Regions from separate parts of the Homo sapiens genome. Here region 2 is linked to region 1. The links are contacts of gene promoters, found by promoter capture Hi-C in blood cells and fetal thymus (Javierre and others, 2016). All regions are on one chromosome and are shown on one strand. Each heading gives the region's core, a stretch centred on a gene start or on the middle of the fragment in contact. The rest is flanking DNA. Distances are from core to core; before and after follow the strand shown. Region 1 holds the start of VPS26C (VPS26 endosomal protein sorting factor C). Region 2 overlaps KCNJ6 (potassium inwardly rectifying channel subfamily J member 6).

Region 1 (5,375 bases), core at 2,584-5,083:
TCAACTTGTCTAGTTGGGTTATGAAATTCATCAACTTGTCTAAGCCACCATTTCCTCATTAGAAAAATGAGAGTGATACTGCCTGGCTGTCAAACCCTACCCCAGAACCTCTGCTGGAACATAAGCTTGCCTTATGTGCTTACGCTGACAAACACGTTTCACTTGAAAGACAATCACTTAATGACCTCAAGCCTGGGATAGTACTGCTTAGGATCAGGCTAAAGTAGGTGGCAGTCACCTCAAGCAACCCATAAGAATTGTAGGCATGGTGCTCTGGCAGGTCCATAGGTAAGTCAAATCTTTGGTAACTGAATCTTTACTGTCACTGTTGAGATGTACGGAGAAAAGAGAAAATGTGTATGCTATCAGCTCCATTGCAGCCAGCTAAGGGTGAGGAGGATAGGAGAGAAGGGCCGCTTCTCCCACAACCACAGCGCAAACTAGATGTGACATATGCACTGTCTGCAGTCAATGAGGCCTCCTCAAGGACCAGACAGCAAGGATCCTGCTACGTGAGGCTTGGAAAACAGCCATGACAGTGCTGGCTGCCTACTCCACCTACCCTGAATTACAGATCATGGAGTCTAGCACATGAGTCATGGGCACACATGTCAGAGATTTTTGTCAATTGATTAATTAGTTTAATAACTTTCTCTTTTCTGTCGCCTTTTAAAAAAACATAGCAACCATCTATTTGGAAGTTATACTGGTTTTTCTTTTATATTCACCATATAAGGTTTCCTTTAAAATGCATGTAAGTATAAAAAGTGACTGAAGGTTGAGAGAAGCTGCCTTCAGCCATCAATTGCAGATGCTGTTCCTTATACTAGCACCAGGAGATGTAGTCTAAGGGACAGAGCTGACTCTGTCTTCAACTCTGTGACCCGCAGGAAGTGGTCCTGGCTGTGTATGACTTCTGCTGGGGCAACTTTACCATTCCACTGCTTGTGTCTTTTCTAATGTACTTTTCATTACTTGTATCATATTTAAAACCACAGAAAATATCTCAGCATCCCAGCTGGAGTAACATTTCTGAAGAGAACATGCTAACTTGTTAATGAAATAATGAATACTAAAGTTAAATGCATATATAGTCTCCTGTCACTGCCCTCCCATTGTTATTTTGAAACATTTCCAAGCTCCAGAAAAGTTACGAGAATACAAAGTAGTGGAAAAATTGGAACCGTCATACAGTGCTGGTAGACTGTAAAGTGGTGCAGACATTTTTGGAAAATAATTTGGCAACTCTTCAAAAAGTTAAAGTAGCTCAGCAAAATCCACTCCTAGGTATATATCCAAGAGAAATGAAAACATCCTCTCACATAAAAACTTGTACTAGAATGTTCATAACATTATTAATAGCGAAAAGGTAGAAATAACTCCAATGTCCATCAAGAGACCAGTGGTTAAACAAAATATGATCTATCCATACAATGGAATATTATTCAGCCACAGAAAGGAATGAGGAACTGACTCATGCTATGACAAGCATGAACACTGAACATTACTCGAAGTAAAAGAAGCCTGTCAGTCAAAAGGGCCACATAGTGTACGATTCCATTTATATGAAATGTCAAGAATAGGCAACTCCAGAGACAAAGTCAATTTGTGACTGCCAGGGGTCAGGAGGGAGGGGGAATGAGGAGTGACAGCTAATGGGTTCAGGGTTTCTTTTTGGGGTGAAAATGTTCTAGAATTAGATCGTGGTGATGGGTGTGCAACTCTGCAAATACACTAAAAAACTACTGAATTGTATACTTTCAAAGGGTAAATTTCGTATTTTAAATTATCTTTATAAAGCTGTTTTTAAAAAGAATACAAAGTAGACCCATGTAGCTTTTAACTTCATTCAGCAATTGTTAGTATTTTGCCACATTCACTTTCTTTCTCCTATACACATATGTGCATAAACATATGTGCACAGTCTACGGCTTGACACTTTGATCCTAAATACTTCAGCATGTGGAGTATTCTACATAACCAAAATATAAATATTACACTGGAGAAATTCAACACCAATATACAACAATTATAGTCCATAGTCGAATTTATATTTTATCAGAAATTAAGCATTCTATTTGGTTCTCATGTCCCTTTAGTCTTATAGTCTAGAAAAATTATCTCGCCTTTATTTTTTGACACTGATATTTCCGAAGAATCCACGCTACTTGTTTCACAGAATGCCCTTCAATTTGGATATTCCTTATTGTTTCCTTATGAACTGATACGGATTAAACATTTTTGGCAGGAATACTACATAGGTGAGTTGTGGCCTTCTCTGTGCATCATGCCAAGGGGTACCGAATGTCAGTCGTCTCATTAGTTGTGATGGTGAAGTGGTGTTCATTGTTGTGCTTGGCTAGAGGAGTGTGACTACCAGATTTCTCCATTATAAAGGTAGCTTTTTCTCTTTTTTTTTTTTTTTTTTTTTTTTTGAGACGGGGTCTCACTCTGTTGCCCAGGCTGGAGTGCAGTGGCACAATCTCGTCTCACTGCAGCCTCCGCCTCCCGGGTTCCAGCGATTTTTCTGCCTCAGCCTCCCTGGTAGCTTGGATTAGAGGCGTCCGCCACCACGCCCGGTTAATTTTTGTATTTTTAGTAGAGACCAGGTTTCACCATGTTGGCCAGGCTGGTCTCGAACTCCTGACCTCAGGTGATCCGCCCGCCTCGGCCTCCCAAAGTGCTGGTAATACAAGCGTGAGCCACCGCGCGGGCCAGATTTTTCCCTTTGTAATTAACCATCAAGGGGATGACCATTTGAGCTTGTGTAAATAAGAGCAGGCTTCCCTAGTTGTCTTTTGCCCAAAAGTTTTAGCATCCATCCAAGACCTTTGTCTGAAATTCTGTCCCTTTTGAGATTACTTTGCATTAATATGACCAACCACTGCGATCAATTTTATTCCAAAGAGTGTTGGGGCTGTGATTTCAACCCTAGCTGCACATATATCACCGGTATCGCTGGGAGTGGAACCCAAGCAATCATATTTTAAAATTCTCCAGGATGACTGATTCTGATGTAGAGTAAGGGTTGAGATTCCCCGAGTTAGAGGAACCTTACAACACCCTCATTTGCAAATAAGGACACTGAGGCCCAAGGAGGTTAAATGACTGGCCAATGTCACAAAACCTGTTAATGGCATAGTCAAGATTTTACTTTTTTATACTTGCATTTTAATAGCCATTCCTTTGTGTCAGTCGAAGAATAAAACCAGAAAAAGCAGTAACTTTCGTAGTATGTTAGTATGTTGTTAAAAGTGACTACCATCTAATATATGCTGCCGCCAGACATACCCATTTCTGCTTCCAAGGTTTGTTTTAGCTTTCGTTCATTAGACCTTTGCGGTCACCTTAGGAGAGAGGGAAAGGGGAGTTTGGTCGTCAACTCCTCCGCCCTCAGCGCTCACTGAGGGAGCTCAAGCCTGAGAACCCAACACCGCCGGGTGTTCAAGGGGCCAGATGGGAAGAGCGCAGCCCCGGAGCTGGGCGCCTGCCCTGCACGTCCCGCAGATGCGGCGGCGGCGCCTGCCCTGGGGCCTCCTCGCAGGGCAGCCAGCCTCGCGCGGGAAGCACCTGGCGGGGACGCACCTGGCGGGAACGCACCCACCTTGGCGGAGACGCACCTGGCGGGACAGCCCTGCCCCGCCTAGGGACGCGGGACGTGCGCAGAGCGATGGAGACAGCGGAACCTGCAGACCCGCCCAACCCCACCTCCATCCCCACCCCCAGCCCCCACTTACCCCGGCGTGATAAACTTTATTCGCTCTTTTAATCTTGATGTCCAGGGCGGTCCCCATCTCCAATTCTCCGCAGCAGCCGCCACTTCCGGCTGCGCGTGACCCCAGGGAAACAAGGGGCGCCTCCCCGCTTCGTTCTGGGCCCCGCCCCTTTCCCTCTCTGCCGGCAGTGGCTCACGTGACCTCGCAGCGGCGTCGCACACACTCCCTAGCTCCGAGGGGCGAATGCCCACGCCTTCCTCCTTCCGGCACAAGAGCCGGCCTTAGTGCGGGCCGAAGCGCTGTCACGGTTCACCCCGCCCCCTCTGGGCGTGAAAGACGGGGCCAAGCTAGCCCCACCCCTTCCGTAGGGACAGTCTTACGCCGGAAATGCTCCTTTGCTGTCCGGGTTAGCGGAGGGAGGGAGGAACGGCTCTCCCCGCGTGCCCCGCGGCTGGAGGCGGAGCCGAGCCTGTCTGTCGGTTGCAGCCTGCGCAGGAAGGATGACGCTCCCGTCAGGCTGTGCGGCGCAGACGGTCGCCCAATGGAGTTGTCTTTCAGGAGGTTTTAACTTGGTAATGCCTGCCCTCCTCAAATGTCCTTAGTCTCCTCAACTCTAGCCCTCCACCGCTTTCTCCCTGGGGTTCTGAAGAGCCGGCGCCCCCTTGTCTGTCTGCGGCCAGGCGCCGCACCCTGCCCTTCCCGCGGGAGCGGTTCCGGTCACCCTCAGGGGTGCGGCCCCTGCGTGCTAGTCCTGCAAAGCGCTGATTGGCCGGCGGCTCGGTTGCCTCGCGTCCCAGCGCCAGCTGGGCCTAGGGCCAAGGTCTCGGGAAGCGCCGGGTGACCTCGCTCCTCTCGGAGCCGCGGGCGCTGGGTCACCCGCCAGCCGGGCTCCGCGGGCCGCGAGGGATTGTGGGTGTTCCCCAGGCGCGTGTCCTGGAACCGGGTGTTAAATATTCAGATCCGTGCGCCCCGCGTGAAGGGTGGAAAGGCACGGCCCCCAGGCTCTGGGGCTTGGAGATTGGTTGCAAATGAAAGACTGAAAGCTGGAGTGAATCTGCCTATTATTTTTATTCCCAGCAACAGCTGACCCCAGATACAGTTTGTGGGGGTGGGGGGCGTTACTGCAGGGCAGGGCAGTGCACTGTTAACGTACTTCGTTTATTGAGTTAAAATCTCTTGTAAATGTTATAAATGAGGATTTTGCCAATAAGCAGAAGGTCAAATTTCATTTTGACAAATGATTTAATTAAATAATGCGGTGAAAAGTGCTTTTTGTTTAAATTCTTTGCTTTTTGTTTAAATTCTTTGATTCTGATCATTATTTTTTAAAGTGCATTGCTTTTGGGATAACATCAGAAACTATCTGTAAAAAGAATTAGTATCACGAATGCCTCCCTCTTAAGAATATAAAATGTTTTACAGGCCAGCAGTGATGGTGCTGCAGCTACAATTGCATTTGAAGGTTAATAAATGGTATTTTCAAATATTCAGGTCTTGGTTTGCAGCTCCTCTCTGCCCTCAGGGCTTTGGTCTCTGTCTTCAATGTTTTCCTGGCAATTCAAAACTCAGCGATTTTAGAACAATTCATTAGGGACTTGAAAATCACAGTCTAGTCTATTTGAATTCAAGAAGTGGATCCCTTTCCGCTAGACTCACCCA
Region 2 (5,670 bases), core at 1,030-3,529, 400 kb after region 1:
TGCTTGATGCCAATCAGTTCTTTGTATCTTTAGGGAGATGGTAGGTGGTGTTGGGGAGCATGAAGTCTGTGTGTGTTGTGTGTGTGTGTGTGTGTGTGTGTGAATGTGCATATGCATCTCTGCTATAATGCAGGGATAAAAACAACAATGCTTTGGACATTTTCATGATGCTGAATCTACTGTTTGGAGCTTACAATAAGGAAATATGCAGAGACTCTGAAATGTCTTCACAGAATTGTAGCTGGAATAACATGGTTAAGATGGATATTCAAAATATTTGAAAATAATTTGAAAATATTTTCTCCCATTCTGTATGTTGTCTTTCACTTTCATGATAATGTATTTCAATGCATACAAGTTTTTTATTTTGATGAAGTTATATTTATATTTTTCTTTTGTTGCCTGTACTTGTGGTGTCACAGCTAAGAATCCATTGATGAATCCGAAGTCATGAAGATTTACCCCTGTGTTTTCTTCTAAAGAGTCTTACAGCTTTTGCTCCTCTATTTAGGTCTTGATGCATTTTGAGTTTATTTTTGCAAATGTATGAGGTAGAGTTTCAACTAATTCTTTTGCATGTATATATCTAGTTGTCCCAGCACCATTTGTTGAAAAGAGGATTCTTTCCCATTAAATGATCTTAGTGTCCTCATGAAAGTCAATTATTCTAAGGTGTGCAGGTTTATTTCTGGACTCTAAATTCTATTCCACTGGTTTAGATGTCCATCCTTATGCCTTATATTCAGTCACTGCTTTAATTACTATAGTTTTATAGTAAGTTTTGAAATGAGGAAGTGTGAATCTTCTAATTTTGTTCTTTTTCAGCATTGTTTTGGCCATTTGGGGACCCTTGCATTTCCATATGAACTTGAGGATTGGGCTTTTTAGTTCTGCAAAATGGCCATTGGAATTTTGGCAGGGATAACATTAAATCTGCAGATCACTTTGGGTAGTACTGCCATCTTAATAATATTAAGCCTGGGCTGAGTGCAGTGGCTCACACCTGTAATCTCAGCACTTTGGGAGGCTGAGGTGTGCAGATAACTTGAGCTCAGGAGTTTGAAACCAGCCGGGGCAACGTGGTGAAACCATGTCTCTCCTAAAAATACAAAAGTTAGCTGGGCATGGTGGTGCATGCTTGTAGTCCCAGCTACTTGGAGGGCTGAGGTGGGAGAATTACTTGAGCCTGGGAGGCAGAGGCTGCAGTCACCCAAGATCGTGCCACTGCACTCCAGCCTGGGTGACAGAATAAGACCCTGTCTCAAAAAGACAAAACAAAACAAAGCAAAAATAATATTAAGCCCTCCAACCTATAAGCACAGGATGTTATTCCATTTATTTAGATATTCTTTCATTTCTTTCAGCAGGACCTTATGATTTTCAGTATATGAGTTTTCACTTCCTTGGTTTGAACTTAGGTATTTTATTTCATTTTTTGGATGCTATTGTCAATGGGCCTGTTTTCTTAATTTCCTTTTTGAATTGTCCATTGCTAGTGTATTGTGATATTGTGAAATATATATTTGGCCTTTATCCCATTTCCTGATACATAGCTCCTAAAACCACTAGAATCTCTGGAGTGTTAAGAATGTCTTTTGTTTGCTACTGAGATGACTGGCAGCTGCAGACCTCTAGATAGCTTCCGGGTGGGGGCTGGCCACCTGAAAGACCATGGCATGATTAGAAGGTTGAGACTTTCGGTCCCACCCCCAACCTCCAGGGAAGGGAAGGGGGTTGAAGGTTCAGTTGATCACCAATGGCCAATGATATCATTACTCATGCCTACATAATGAAGCTTCCATAGAAAAGCAAAAGGACTGAGTTCTGGGGGCTTCTGGAAAGCTGAACACATGGATGTTCCTGGAAGGGGTTAACCCAGGGAGGGCGTGCCCCTCTTCTTGCCTCTTCTCCCACACTTTGCCCTGTACCCTTCTTCCTTCTGGCTGCTCATCTGTACCCTTAATTATATCCTTTATAATAAATGGGTAGGTGTAAGTAGAGTGGTTCCCTGAGTTCTGTGAACTGCTTTCGCAAATTAATTGAATCCCAGGATGGGGTTGCGGGAACTCCCAATTTACAGCCAGTTGGTCAGAAGCACAGGCCACAACCTGTGCTTGCGACTGGCATCTGCCGGGGTGGGGCAGGCTTGTGGGGCTGAGCCCTCACCCTGTGGGATCTGACACTGCCTGCAGGTAGACAGTGTCAGAGCTGAACTGAATTAGGGAACACACAGGGGTGTCCACTGGAGAATGACCTGCAGCACTGGTTGTTGTTGGAGAAACCCCAACAGCCCTCTGGAGTCATGGAAGTGTTATCTGTTGTAAGAGTATAGTACGAGATGCGGAGTTTGTTTCTTCCTAGGTCCTTATGTATAGAAATTCAACATTTTTTTTTGTGTTGATCTTGTACTCTACAACTTTTCTGAATTTGTTTATTGGCTCTCGTAGTATTTTTGTGGATTCTTTGGGGTTTTCTCTGTATAAGATCATGTTATCTTTGAATAGAACTAGTTTTACTTCTTTCCAATTGGAATACTTTCTGTTTCTTTTTTTTACTTAATTGCTCTGGAGGGAATTGTGTCTTGACCCATTCTCTACCTGTAGTCTAGGAGGGATTGACCCCATCTCTTAAGGGTGATCCCTGCTTGGCTTAAGCAAGTCCATAGAGCTCATCTGCTTGTCCCCAGTGATTGGGTCGGAAATGGCATATGACCTCCTTAAGGACAATGAGATGCAAAGAAATATAGCTTTAGCTTCTAGGAAGGAAGCTTCTCTTTTCTGTGGAAGCTTCTGGAAGAGATCCTGACTCTTCTGCTTGTGAGAAGTTGGGGCCTGAAATGTGGTGGACACTTCTGCTACCATGAAAGAAGTAGTCTAAGGATGACGGTGATGCAGAAGGAAGGGAAAGCAGGAGACCTGGAGAAAAGGAGCTGGGTCTGGGGGTCATCTCAGCGCCTAGGAACCGGCAGCATCGGAAGTCCTCTCCCCCTGGGTTTTTGGTTGTATGAGCTAAGACATCCTCAATTTTTTTTTCTTTTTTCATAAGTCAGTTTGGGTTCTCTGACATCTCTTTTTACTTGAAAATGTTAAAGTTCAAGATACATGGTATATCCTTAGCTTAGTATAAACTTATCAGCTATGGTTGTTTCACTTGGACTTTTTACCTAATCAAAAAGGAAATAAAGATGTAATACACATGTAAGGAGATGGTAGGTTTTTCTCTCTTTCTCTTTTTCTCCCTTCCCCTTCCCTTCCCTTCCTTTCTCTTTCTTTCTTCTCTCTCTCTCTGTTTTCTTGAGATAGGATCTGGCTATGTGGCTAAGGTGGGAGTGCAGTGGTACCATCACAGCTTACTGCAGCCTCGAACTCCTGGGCTAAAGTGGTCCTCCTGTCTCAGCCTCCCAAGTAGCTGGGACTACAGGTGCATGCTGCTGTGCCCTGTTAATTATTTTATTTTTTGTAGAGACAGAGTCTTGCTACATTGTCCAGGCCAGATTTTTCTTTTAAGTGTGGTAAATGCTATAAAAGTCTCCTTTTTACATTATTCTCAAAACGTTTTTAATGAGCAATAATATTCATTATTGAATGCAAAATGAGAGAGAGAAAACAAAGGAGGAGAAGAAGAATTGAGAGGAGACGGGGACAGGTAAGACAGCATGAGGGAAAGAGGAGTGGTGGAAATGGAGCAGAGGCTGGAGGAAGAGGGTTGGGACCTGAACCATCTCTAGGGCTATGGCCGATAGGCCCAGGGGCAGCCTGCTGGAGCTAGGGAAGTGGGTGGTTGTCCATCAGCTTTCCTGGGTGGTCCCATTACTGGGAGGCTTCCATCTCCAGCTGGACTGTCCTGCAGCTTCCTTTGGCTGGGCTGCCCCTGTCCCCTCCCCCTCTTCCAGTCCTGTTTCTTTCCAGGAGCCGGCTCCTTGGAGCTCATCCATCCTCCTTCCTGGGGCTCCAGGCTTCCTTTTCTCAGGGATAGGATTTGTCTCTCAGCTTCAGAAATGAGGGTGCATCTCAGAGCAGCACTTTTCCTGGCCCAGTGGCTGGGCTCACTTGTGTCTGTGTTGTGTCCAACTCACTCATCACACACCTGTTGTGGATAGGACACAACACAGGGACACAGGGATGAGACAGAAATGAGGACACAGGCACTGACATGCATAACCAGCAGACAGATGGGTATGTTTAATTTTAGAGGTGTGTTCAGAGTTAGAGGGGGACAGGGAAGGGAGGGATTCTCTAGGCAGGACTGAAGCAGGGAAGTCTTTACAAAAGATGTGCTGGGCTTTGAAGGATGAGTAGGAGTTGATCAGGCAAACCAGTGGAGGAAAGAAGGGGAAGGGGCTCTCATTGGGGCTCATCCTGGCTGCACATCGGAGACACCTGGAGGAGCCTTGGGAGAGAAGATGGCCAAAGAGCAGGGAGAGCTGATGCTGTTCCCTCAGGGTTTACCTGTTTGCTTCCATGCTGTGACTTTGAGCCCTGTGATTTCCCTTAGTGATGACAGCATATCCCAACCATGTGAAGTCTAACTGCCCTCTAGCCAGTGTAAACAGGCTATTCTGGAGTGTGGGGCCAGGGGAGAACCTTCAGATCCCTGAAATATGCCCCAGATATGGTTTGCGGAACTCAACGGCATCTTTTTCACCTTCAACCCAACCTGTCCCCAATGTCAGCTCTCAGCTGAGTTACTGCAGCAAACCTTTCCCCAGTTACTGGCTGCTATCTGCACATTGTGTGACCAACTAATCTCTGTTTGCCTGGGACTTACCCACATTTAGCATTGAATGTCCCACATCCCGGAAATCCCTCAGTCCCAAGCAAATGAGGACAGTTGGTCATCTACAGCTCACACGCCAACCACAGCCATCCTTTCAAAATGCATGTAATGTCATGCCACTCTTTGCTCGACACCCTCCAGGGCTCCCCTCTCAGAGCAAAAGCCACACAAAGCTCTCCCTGGCCTGGTGCCTGTGACCTCACTCGCCTCCTCTCTGCCCACTCCCCTCCTCACCCACTGGCTCCGCCGAGTCAGGCCTCCTTGATGCTTCTCCAAGCTTCCTTTCACCACAGGGCCTTTGCATGCAGGTCCTCTCTGCTTGGAACACTCTCTCCCTGATACCCACAGGGCTCACACCTCCTCTCACCCAGGATGGATCTAGTATTAGCTCTGCAGGGACAGCTTCCCTGACTCCCCTATACCTCACGTACTTCACCCCCTCCAGAGCCGTGATTCCTTTCCTTTCTGCACGTCTCACTCCGACAGGCTTACTTTCTGGTTTAGTCTTTCTCTGCTCACTTGGATGTAAGCTTGGTTTACTCATGCTGTGTCCTGACTACCTAGAACACTGCAGAGCGCATAGCATGAGGGCAATAAACGACGAATGAATAAATGAATGAATGAATAATGAATGAATGATTGAATGAAAGAAATCTGGACAACTTACTCACTTAGGGTGGCTAAGGAGAGGTAAGGGCTGCTTTTCCCAGACAGCCCACCCTGCACTGCCCCTGTCCCCAAGCCTTCCAGGTGGACTCATGCAGTCCTGCTCGGAGCTCCTCTGCTGCTCCGGGTTTGACTCAATCGACACCCTTCGCACCACTTTCTAAGTGTCTCCTTTGGACTGGGCCCTTGAGCCATGAGCTTTCTTTTATTTAATGTGATATTCCCAGC

What was found. Contacts are between HindIII fragments. The CHiCAGO score rates a contact against its expected background, and 5 or more counts as called.
Region 2: a contact is called between a fragment that was not itself captured here and the fragment with the promoter of VPS26C in region 1, in 1 of 17 cell types (endothelial precursors). The highest score is 6.1, in endothelial precursors.

Annotation. Positions count from the first base shown.
Region 1 is chr21:37,263,501-37,268,875 of GRCh38, forward strand. VPS26C (VPS26 endosomal protein sorting factor C) reads right to left here and starts at 3,834. Exons shown (of 8, transcript NM_006052.2): 1 at 3,738-3,834. The coding sequence starts at 3,794. RefSeq lists silencers at 3,430-3,739, 4,480-4,639 and an enhancer at 3,880-3,939. The HindIII fragment of the contact is 6,761 bases long and covers 124-5,375 here.
Region 2 is chr21:37,669,502-37,675,171 of GRCh38, forward strand. All of the region lies in intron 3 of KCNJ6 (potassium inwardly rectifying channel subfamily J member 6), which reads right to left. All of the region lies in intron 1 of KCNJ6-AS1 (KCNJ6 antisense RNA 1), which reads left to right. Among named protein-coding and RNA genes, the nearest start is that of KCNJ6-AS1, 150 kb to the left of the region's middle. RefSeq lists an enhancer at 5,554-5,670. The HindIII fragment of the contact is 972 bases long and covers 1,794-2,765 here.